Regions from separate parts of the Homo sapiens genome. Here region 1 is linked to region 2. Evidence: promoter capture Hi-C in human tissues and cell types (Jung and others, 2019). All regions are on one chromosome and are shown on one strand. Each heading gives the region's core, a stretch centred on a gene start or on the middle of the fragment in contact. The rest is flanking DNA. Distances are from core to core; before and after follow the strand shown. Region 1 has its middle 3.2 kb from the start of ATP2B4. Region 2 holds the start of PRELP (proline and arginine rich end leucine rich repeat protein).

The links. The method cuts DNA at HindIII sites, captures the fragments that hold promoters and counts their contacts. A contact is called where the count stands out against the background at its distance.
Region 1: a contact is called between a fragment that was not itself captured here and the fragment with the promoter of PRELP in region 2, in 3 of the 25 tissues and cell types used here (H1 embryonic stem cells, IMR-90 fibroblasts and aorta).

The regions. Positions count from the first base shown.
Region 1 is chr1:203,621,236-203,625,963 of GRCh38, forward strand. No RefSeq gene overlaps it. Among named protein-coding and RNA genes, the nearest start is that of ATP2B4, 3.2 kb to the right of the region's middle. RefSeq lists an enhancer at 4,591-4,728. The HindIII fragment of the contact is 5,394 bases long and covers 1-4,728 here.
Region 2 is chr1:203,473,166-203,477,702 of GRCh38, forward strand. It overlaps PRELP (proline and arginine rich end leucine rich repeat protein), which reads left to right and starts at 2,641. Exons shown (of 3, transcript NM_002725.4): 1 at 2,641-2,773. The HindIII fragment of the contact is 3,589 bases long and covers 266-3,854 here.

The DNA of each region.
Region 1 (4,728 bases), core at 1,133-3,632, 150 kb after region 2:
CACCCTAACCCCGCCTCCATCCAAAACAGTTTAAAGCTTGCTTTTCAAGATTTTTCAGGTACTTGCAAATATTATCTCCTTCCTAGAGCCTTCTAATATTCCCATCTGAGGCAATCACTCCCTAGCATTTCCTAGCATTTTATATTTCATCTTTTAATATGTACTACCTAGCACATAGTAAGCATTCAGTAAATACATTTAAAAGATTATAGCATCTTTGATTGTAGCTACTCATGCTATGAAAGCATCTTTTCCTTCTACTAAACTATAAGCTTATTACCTCTGTATACCTCATCTGGGCCCAGTAGATGTTGAAACAGTAGACATTCAATAAATGTATGCTAAATTGAATAGTAGGTGTTCAGAGATACTTAACTGAATGAATAAAATGCACAGAAATGACTGAATCTAAATGGTAGCTAGTAGCTCAAAGACTTTCTATATTACTTTCTACACTACATTTCTACATTACTTAGTACAAGTGACCAAAAAACCTAGTTTCATCTAGCGTAGGCATGCACAATGAGTCATGTAACTCATTTGTAGGAAAGGCAGGGGTACAGTGGGATATGAGGTACAACGAACTCCAGTGCTGCTGGCACTCACTCCTTAGCTTTCTCGTCTGCCTCTCTTGCATGCGAGCTGTATTCTTTTTTATTGCAGGCTTCTTCCATGGGGCAGGGAACTTGACCCCTGATACTTCCAGAGTATAAGATACTTGACCTCTGATACTTCCAGAGTATCTCTTCACAGTAGTCACAGCAGGGACCAAGCCTTGTTTTCTGTTTAATCGTAAGTGCAAAACTCTCAGGAAAGGATGTAATTGGCTCAGCTTGGGTCAGGTGGGGTTAGGACTGCTAATAAAATGTCAGTTTCAATTGTTGTTTTTTGTTTTGTTTTGTTTTGTTTTGAGATGGAGTCTCACTCTGTCACCCAAGCTGGAGTACAGTGGCACGATCTCAGCTCACTGCAACCTCAGCCTCTGGGGTTCAAGTGATTCTCGGGCCTCAGCCTCCTGAGTACCTGGAATTACAGGCATGCCCAGTGATTTTTTTTTGTATTTTTATTTATGTATTTATTTACTGATACAGAGTCTCACTCTGTCACCCAGGCTGGAGTACAGTGGTGCAATCTCAGCTCACTGCAACCTCCATCACCTGGTTTCAAGCGATTCTCCTGCCTCAGTCTCCCGAGTAGCTGGGACTACAGGCGCGCACCACCGTGCCAGCTAAGTTTTGTATTTTTGGTAGAGACGGGGTTTCACCATGTTGCCCAGGCTGGTCTTGAACTCCTGACCTCAAGTGATCCAACCACCTCGGCCTCTCAAAGTGCTGGGATTACAGGCATGAGCCACCATGCCTGGCCCAGTTTCCATCTTAACAGTGAGAAGAAAGGACGTCCCAAAGAACTGGGTTCGGGCATGGGGAAAATGGCTGCTGTTCTAGCCAAGGCAAAATGGTAGATATTCACAACAGGGAGTCATGCAGTCTGCATTCGGGGGAGGTACAGGAAATGGTGAGGAAGATTTGGAAAACTCAAGGTGGAGTCATCAAGAGGCAGAGGAACACATTCTGTTAAACACCTAAGTGAGAGACAGTGCTGACTGCATTTTCCTCAAGTGAGAGATGGGGTAGGGACAGGGTCCACAGTGATGTAAGCCCTGTAGAGACTGACCTGCTATGGGGAGTTCAGGAGGCTGAGGAGAGCCAGGCTAGATCTAAAGAACAGGAACCTGTAAAGTCAAGAGTACAGCAGGGAGAAGAGGGAAACAGGACTGCTCAGAGCTGAGCAGAACAGGCAGACTATGAACTTCTGATGCCAGAGGCAGTGTCCTCCTTCTTGCCCCAGGGGGGCCAACTCCATTTTCCCACATCTAGTGGTTATTTTTATGGATAGATTTATTTTTACCCGTTCTAGACCTCAAACCTGCCGCTGCAAGAAGCGAAGCACTGAGGCTTCTAGCTTTCCAGAAAACACAGGCCTCAGTGGTCAGCTCAGTGACAGAGATCAGGCTATGGTCCCCTCGGCTCCTCTGGGGTCACATTGACCCACCCCCCGACATCCCTCCCTCCTGTCTGCAGCAGAGCTGGGGTGGGAATGGAGTGGGAGGGGGATTCCTTTTTTCTCATCCCACAACCCCACAGCCGGTCAAGGGGAGGATCTACAGCCACCCTGGAAGTCATAAACCTGGCCTGCCCCTGAATCCTAGCCAGCCAGATGTGGGACAGCCATCAGAGCCTCTTTTGACAGCACCTCCCTGGCAGAGCCTGTCTCCCTGGAATCCAGGGAGCTTGAGGGGAAGATCTTACCTTTCCAATAATAACCAGCTATGAAAGGGTATCATTTCCCAGTCCCCACAAAACAGGCAGCCAAAGCAGACTTCTTCTTTATTGGGACCATACATCTGGCCTAAATTGTCATTCCCCCAAGACAAGTTTACTGAACAGTTAGGCAATGCCTCCACACACAGCCACTGCAGACGAGCTTAAAATATACTTTAATACATTTAAACAGTCATTTCAGAGACTGGCTTTCTTATGATAAAGATGCAACTGACACTCATTGGTGCTAAAATGTCATGTTGTTGCCATCCAGCAGGGAGCCTGACAAGCCATTAAATCTGCAGCTCTGTTAAGCTGATTCATTTCTTTTCCTTTCTTTCTCATGTCTTCCCCAACAATTGATTTGGGCTCCTGAAGCTGATATTTTGCTAGGGTCTACCAAAATCTAACAAGGGTGCTGTGCATTGTAGGGTGTGCCCGTAGTCCCAGTTTCTAGGAAGGCTGAGGCGAGAGGATCACTTGAGGTCAGGAGTTTAAAAGCAACTTGGGCAACACAGGGAGACCCATAATGAAAAAAAAGAAGGAAGGAAGAAGGAAGGAAGGAAGGAAAGGGAGGAGGGAAGGGAGGGAGGAAGGAAGAGAGGAAGGAAGGACGGAAAAAAGGAAGAGAAAAAGAAAGAAAGAGAAAGAAAGAGAGAAAGAAAGAAAGAAAGAAGGAAGGAAGGAAGGAAGGAAGGAAAGAAAGAAAGAAAGAAAGAAAGAAAGAAAGAAAGAAAGAAAGAAAGAAAGAAAGAAAGAAAGAGGGAGGGAGGAAGGAAGGAAGGTAGAGGGAGGGAAGGAAGGAAGGGAGATGGAAGGAAGGAAGGGGAAAGAAAGGGAGAAAGGAAGGGAAGGGAAGGGAAGGGGAGGGAAAAGGAGGGAAGGGGAGGGAAAAAGGAGGGAAGGGAAGAGGGAGGGAAGGGAAGAGGGAGGGAATGGAAGAGGGAGGGAAGAGGGAGGGAGGAAGGAAGGAATCTAACAAGGTACTAACTGTTCTTGAAATGCCCTGGGAAGGTGGGAGTGACTAGAGGAGTTGCAAGAGGCTGAAATGAGAACAAAGGTCACCTTTAGTGTCCTGTAAGTGCCTTGAGTGTCAGACAGTCAATCACTAGACAAAAAAGACCAAACAATCCATAGTTCCCATAGAGGGTGACCCTAAAATCTCCCCTTACCCCTGCAACTTTCTTCGGCTGCTGGCAGGGAGAGGCACAAGCACAGGCAGGGGCTTATTTTTTTTCTCTTGTTTTTAATTTTTTTGTAGAGATGGGGTGGGTCTTGCTATGTTGCCCAGGCTGGTCTTGAAATCTGGCCCCAAGTGATCCTCCCTCCTCAGCCTCCCAAAGTACTGGAATTACACGGATGAGCCACTGTGCCTAGCCAGGGCTTATTTTGGATTTTGTTTTCAGATGACAGCAGGCAATCTCCAGCCTCACATTGATGAACTCTGAGTTCTGAGCCCAGCCCAACCAGTCTAAAAACATTACTGGCCGGGTGCGGGGGCTCACGCCTGTAATCCCAGCACTTTGGGAGGCCGAGGCGGGCAGATCATGAGGTCAGGAGATCGAGACCATTCTGGCTAACATGGTGAAACCCCGTCTCTACTAAAAATACAAAAACAAAATTAGCCGGGCGTGGTGGCAGGGGCCTGTAGTCCCAGCTACTCGGGAGGCTGAGGCAGGAGAATGGCGTGAACCCCGGAGGCGGAGCTTGCAGTGAGCCGAGATCACGCCACTGCACTCCAGCCTGGGCAACAGAGCAAGACTCCGTCTCAAAAAAAAAAAAAAAAACCATAAAGAAAAAAGAAATAGCAGGGTAAGAAAATGAAGAGGAAAAAGAGGACCCAAATGAGAGAACATTGGGAAGGGTGCTAGTTGGACACGGGGGAAACTGGACCCCGTTTCACAACCCTGTTTCTCCATGCACATGTGGCTCTGCTTCTTGGGGGCAGAGATGACAGCAAAGAAGGACAGGGGGTGGTGTGAGCTGTTGGGTTAGAATGATAGGATCAAAGAGGCCTTTTCCCAACCCTCTGTTTAAAAGGTTGGGAAGTAGTGGCCAGTCACCTTCTTCACAGCATAGCTCATAGCTATAACCTGTGAGACATATGTCAATGTGCCTTCCATAAGCATATAAACATGAGTGTGTTTGCTGAGGTAGGTGTGGGAATCTGTCAGTCAATGAAGATATGTTGTGTGAACCAGCTGATGGTGCATGTTTGTGCTTGAAAGCCATAAAGTTCTATGCAAAATCTATGGGTGGCACTGTTGCACAATGCTAGTGGGTGTGTGGGTATGGGGGTGTGATTAACTGTTTACAGGCTGTGTATAAGTGTGCATGGATGTCTGAGTGTGTGCAAATTAAAACGGAAATATGTGCCGGAGTATGATACAAAGTACAGGAAAGTACT
Region 2 (4,537 bases), core at 1,391-3,890:
GAAACAAGATTGGCCATGAGTCGGTAATTGTTGAAGCTAGGTATTAGATAATGGGGATATTAATACTATACTGTGTAAATATGTATACGTTTTAAAATTTCCACAAAACTTTTAAAAAATTAACGTGCTGTCAAAAAAAATTAGGTACTCAAGCCATATTAGGTCCACAAGCCACTGATTAGCAAACTCTATTCTGGACACTCCTGAATATCCTGCTGGCCATGTCTATACTTCTTTCCAATTCTCTCTGCATAGCGTGGGATGCGGGAGATAGGAGAGGGAGGAAGGGAGATAACTGGCTTAGGCAGGGCTTGGAAGTTGGCCATCCATTCCCGAGAGCATAGACTCTTGGGATTTGGATGGCTGTCATACAAATGGATACAGGTGACACCCCTGCCCCTGCCCATACTCCACACTCCTTCCAGTCTGTCTATCCCCACAGACACTCTACCCATCATCCCTGTACCTCACTGTACTTTGCTCACCTTATTATTTTTTGAGACAGGGTCTTGCTCTGTGACCCAGGCTGGAGGGCACTGGCGTAATCATAGCTCATTACAGCCTTGGTCTCCTGGCCTCAAATAATCCTCTCACCTCAGTCTCCTAAGTAGCTGGGACTTCAGGTACACACCACCACACCCAGCTAATTTTTAAATTATTTGTACAAACAGGGTCCCCCCATATGGCCCAGGCTGGTCTCGAACTCCTGGGCTCCATTAATCTTCTGCCTTCGTCTCCCATAGTGCTGGGATTACAGACATGAGTCTCCGTGCCCAGCCAGTCTTTTTTGCCCTCTATCATCTACCACCCACCATACCAAGGGAAACAAGCAAATCTGGCGTCTGATGTTCCCGGCCTGCAGAAGACGCCATATCCCATCTGGATGAGAAATGAAGCACATGAGCAGCCTGGCAGAGCCACAGTTAATGTGAACCTGGAGAGGAACCGTGCTGTCTTCCAGCAAGACCTCACCAGCAGGGCGTGAAGCCATGAGATCTGGGGTGGAAGGGGGTTGGAGAAAGGTCTGGGTTTTATTTTTCCTTCTCCTTTTCTTAGGCTAATTACCATTCATCGCAATCCCTTTCCTAAACCCTAATATCTTCCCAGTTTATAAAGTGCTCTCACATTTACAATATTTAATCTTCCCAACCCTGTGAGGTCAATATTATCCATATTTTGTAAATGAGGAAACTGAAGGTCCTCATGATCAAGTGATTCACCTAAGACCATAGCTTGTGGGTGGCTGAGCCCAGGGCTGCAGACCCTAATTTTAATGTTCTCTCCTCTACCCCATATTGCGGAGGGCAGGCAGGCAGTCCCCTGTCATGGGGCTCTGCAGCTCTCCATGGAACCAATAATGGAGAAGAAAATTGCGTTGCATTTTCTAAGTAGTCAGCTGGGATGGCAGGAATTTATTTATTTTATTTACTTATTTATTTTTTGAGACAGAGTCACGCTCTTGTTGCCCAGGCTGGAGTGCAGTGGCACGATCTTGGCTCACTGCAAGCTTTGCCTCCCAGGTTCAAGCAATTCTCCTGCCTCAGCCTCCCTAGTAGCTGGGACTACAGATGCCCGCCACCACACCCAGCTAATTTTTTTGTATTTTTAGTACAGACAGGGTTTCACCATGTTGGCCAGGTTGGCCTCAAACTCCTGACCTCAGGTGATCCGCCTGCCTCTGCCTCCCACAGTACTGGGATTACAGGCGTGAGCCACTGTGCCTGGCCATGGCAGGAAATTTTGATGGGCATCTACTTACCTGCAAGTGTGTTGTGCTTTCTTAATTGAGGGGCATTGTTAGAGGATTGTTAGAGGTAGTGGTGTTACTTGACTGGGTCTTCTGGGGTGTTGATGTGCACAGGGGAAATTTGGATTTCCCATCACTTTGTGTGATGACCACACAGCCCCTAAATCTCACCTAAGTGTGATATGGAGAAGCTGAAAGAAGCCACTACATTGTCCACATGAGCTAGGAACAGTGACTTTAGGTCTTACATTAAATCTTAATTCTGCCTTAACTTTGCTGTGCAACTCAGGCCAGACTTCTCCCTCTCTGGTTCTCAGAACAGCCCTGGCAGCCAAACCGAAGTTATCTCCTATGCCAGCCTGAGACTCCACTCCCTTTGCAACCTCCTGGAGAAGATAACTTAGGGAAAGACTGTCACTGCTCAGAGGAAGCATCCCAAACCCCTCACTGGTTTAGGAATTTAACACTACCGAGCAACGGCCCCAGAAGGCAAGGCGATTGTTAGGAGGAATTAAACAGGCTAGTGCTGGACCCAGCCATCCAGTCCTGGCTTACACAGAGGTTGCTTTTCATGCCTTTTCACTCTGTTAATTTGGCTTGTTTTCCAAACATGGGTCAAACAACCCCTCTCCAGAAGCGGCAGCAGCAGAAGGAAATGTTATTAAAAATGAGTCTGTTAGTGGGAATGGTGTGTGGATGAAGTCTTTGGGAGTTTTGGCTGCCAAATAAAGACTTTATTGTCATTCCTCCTTTCCCAAGCTCCCTCCCTCTCTCCTCCCCTCCCCTCCCTCCCTCCTCCCTCCTCTCCTCCCCTCCCTCCCTATGATCTGCCCCTCCCTCCCCCCAAGCTAACCTCCCCACCCCAATAGGATCTGGTGGAAGAAAAGTCAGGCAAACACAAGCACGCACACACCACTGGGAGATCAGATCTTCTAGCTGGCTCTCTGCTGCCACAGCTCCGCCGAAGGGAGGGGGTGGAAGAGGAGGACTAAACTCAGAGCTGAGAGGAGAGGCAGGTGTGTGCAGGTAAGCCCAGTTGGGAGATGGGCAGGAGACTGGGAAGAATCTTTCATCCAGTAAGTTTCCTCCAGCTCTGTCCATTTATTGATCTAGTCTCTATCCTCTCACTCCTTCCTTCCTCCCACCTCTTTCTCCTCTCAAATGAGTTCAAATTTAGTCTTCCTAACTTCTTTCCTATAGCCTCTTCCTTTTCTTTTCATCACTCTGTACCCCTATATTTGCTTACTGCAAAAGTTAAGCTTTCCTGCTGCAGATGTTTGTTGTAGCACAGAGAGCCACGCTGCACAAAGTGTTTCTACAGATCAGGTGTTTCCATAGAAACTGGACTCCAGAACCCATTTCTTTGCACCTTTTGTGTATTGTCACACATTGTGGAAGTCACACACATCACACGGAGGCTGCACGTTCACTACCATCACCCCACACGACCATACAAAATGAAGACATCCTGTCCATTCACCTCTGCCCTCTGCATCTGACATGCAGAGCTAGACCACATCATCACCAGACACCAGCAGACACACACACACATGCATGCACACATGTTCCCTGCATCTTGTCTCTCGCCCTCTCACACACACCTCCCTAGCTGTAAGAGCAAAGATAAAGTACGTTTTCCCACTGAGATGGCAGAGCCAGAAGAAAATCTTGCATCCCAAGTCCAGGCCGAATAGGGAGGAGATAAGCAAGAGCGGGAGCTGGAAGGGTTTCTTCATTATTTAGGGCTTCACTGGGTAGGAGGGAGAGAAAAACGGCTTTTTCCAACCTGCACAGTGTCTTCTCAGCAGCTTTCAATTTCTGTCTCACTGGTCCAAACCACTTGGCTTTTGGAAAGAAAGAAGAAAGCGACCCAGTTCCCAATCCTTGAAGGTCCTAATTCCCAGCTCTGGGGACAGTTCATTTTTTTATTTTTTTTTCCTGCAGGCAGCCAGAAAAATATTTTTCTTTAAAGCCGTTCTGAAATTATTCCAACCATTTAGGTTGGCAAAAGGTCCTGTGGCAGAGGAGAAAAAAAAAAAAAGGCAGCAGTTCCTTAAGCAGTTGGGGAGGGGAAAACTGAAGGGCGGCCCCTCTCCTGCTCCCCTGCTCATTCCTCTCTATTAATAGAGAGGGTCTGTCCCAAGGCAGGCGGGGTGTAGGGAGATCAGGGGTCCCACACACAGCTGATCTTCACAGTCACCTAAGGGCTGGAGAGGGAGGAGTGTGGAGGGCTTACTAAAAATACAGATGTCGGCTCTCACTGCAGATCTACTGAATCGAGACCCAGGAATCTTGTTTTAATACTTCAGGAGATTCTGATGGTCCACCAGGGCTCGAGAATCAGGGGCCTGAGAGAGAGCTTTGCTGTAATTTTTAAGCCCAAGACTCCGGCAGTGTTAGCTGGGCAGAAGGACTGTGTCCTGGAAAAGGAGCACCAGAGTGTCCCAAATAGGCCACCTCTTTTTTGGGGAGTGGGAGTAAACAGGGAAGAGCTGTCTCCCTCTCTCCTCCTTGCAAGCACAAGCAGCCATATATACCACAGAGGAACATTCCAGTAAGAAAGTTCCCCCAAGATGGCTCCACAGAGCTTCTGTTTCCCCTCACCTGTTAATCTGCCTGCCCCAGGACCCCAGGAGCATGTGCTGGGCCCTTCCCCTGACCCTTATAGGTCCCTGCTCCTCCTTCCCAGCAGCCACCTGTCTGGGCTCTCACAGAGGGTGAGCTGAACACTTTCTTCATGCCCCCTCCACCTCCCTAGTGGGCAATCCCATTTATTGGGCATGTGAGTGA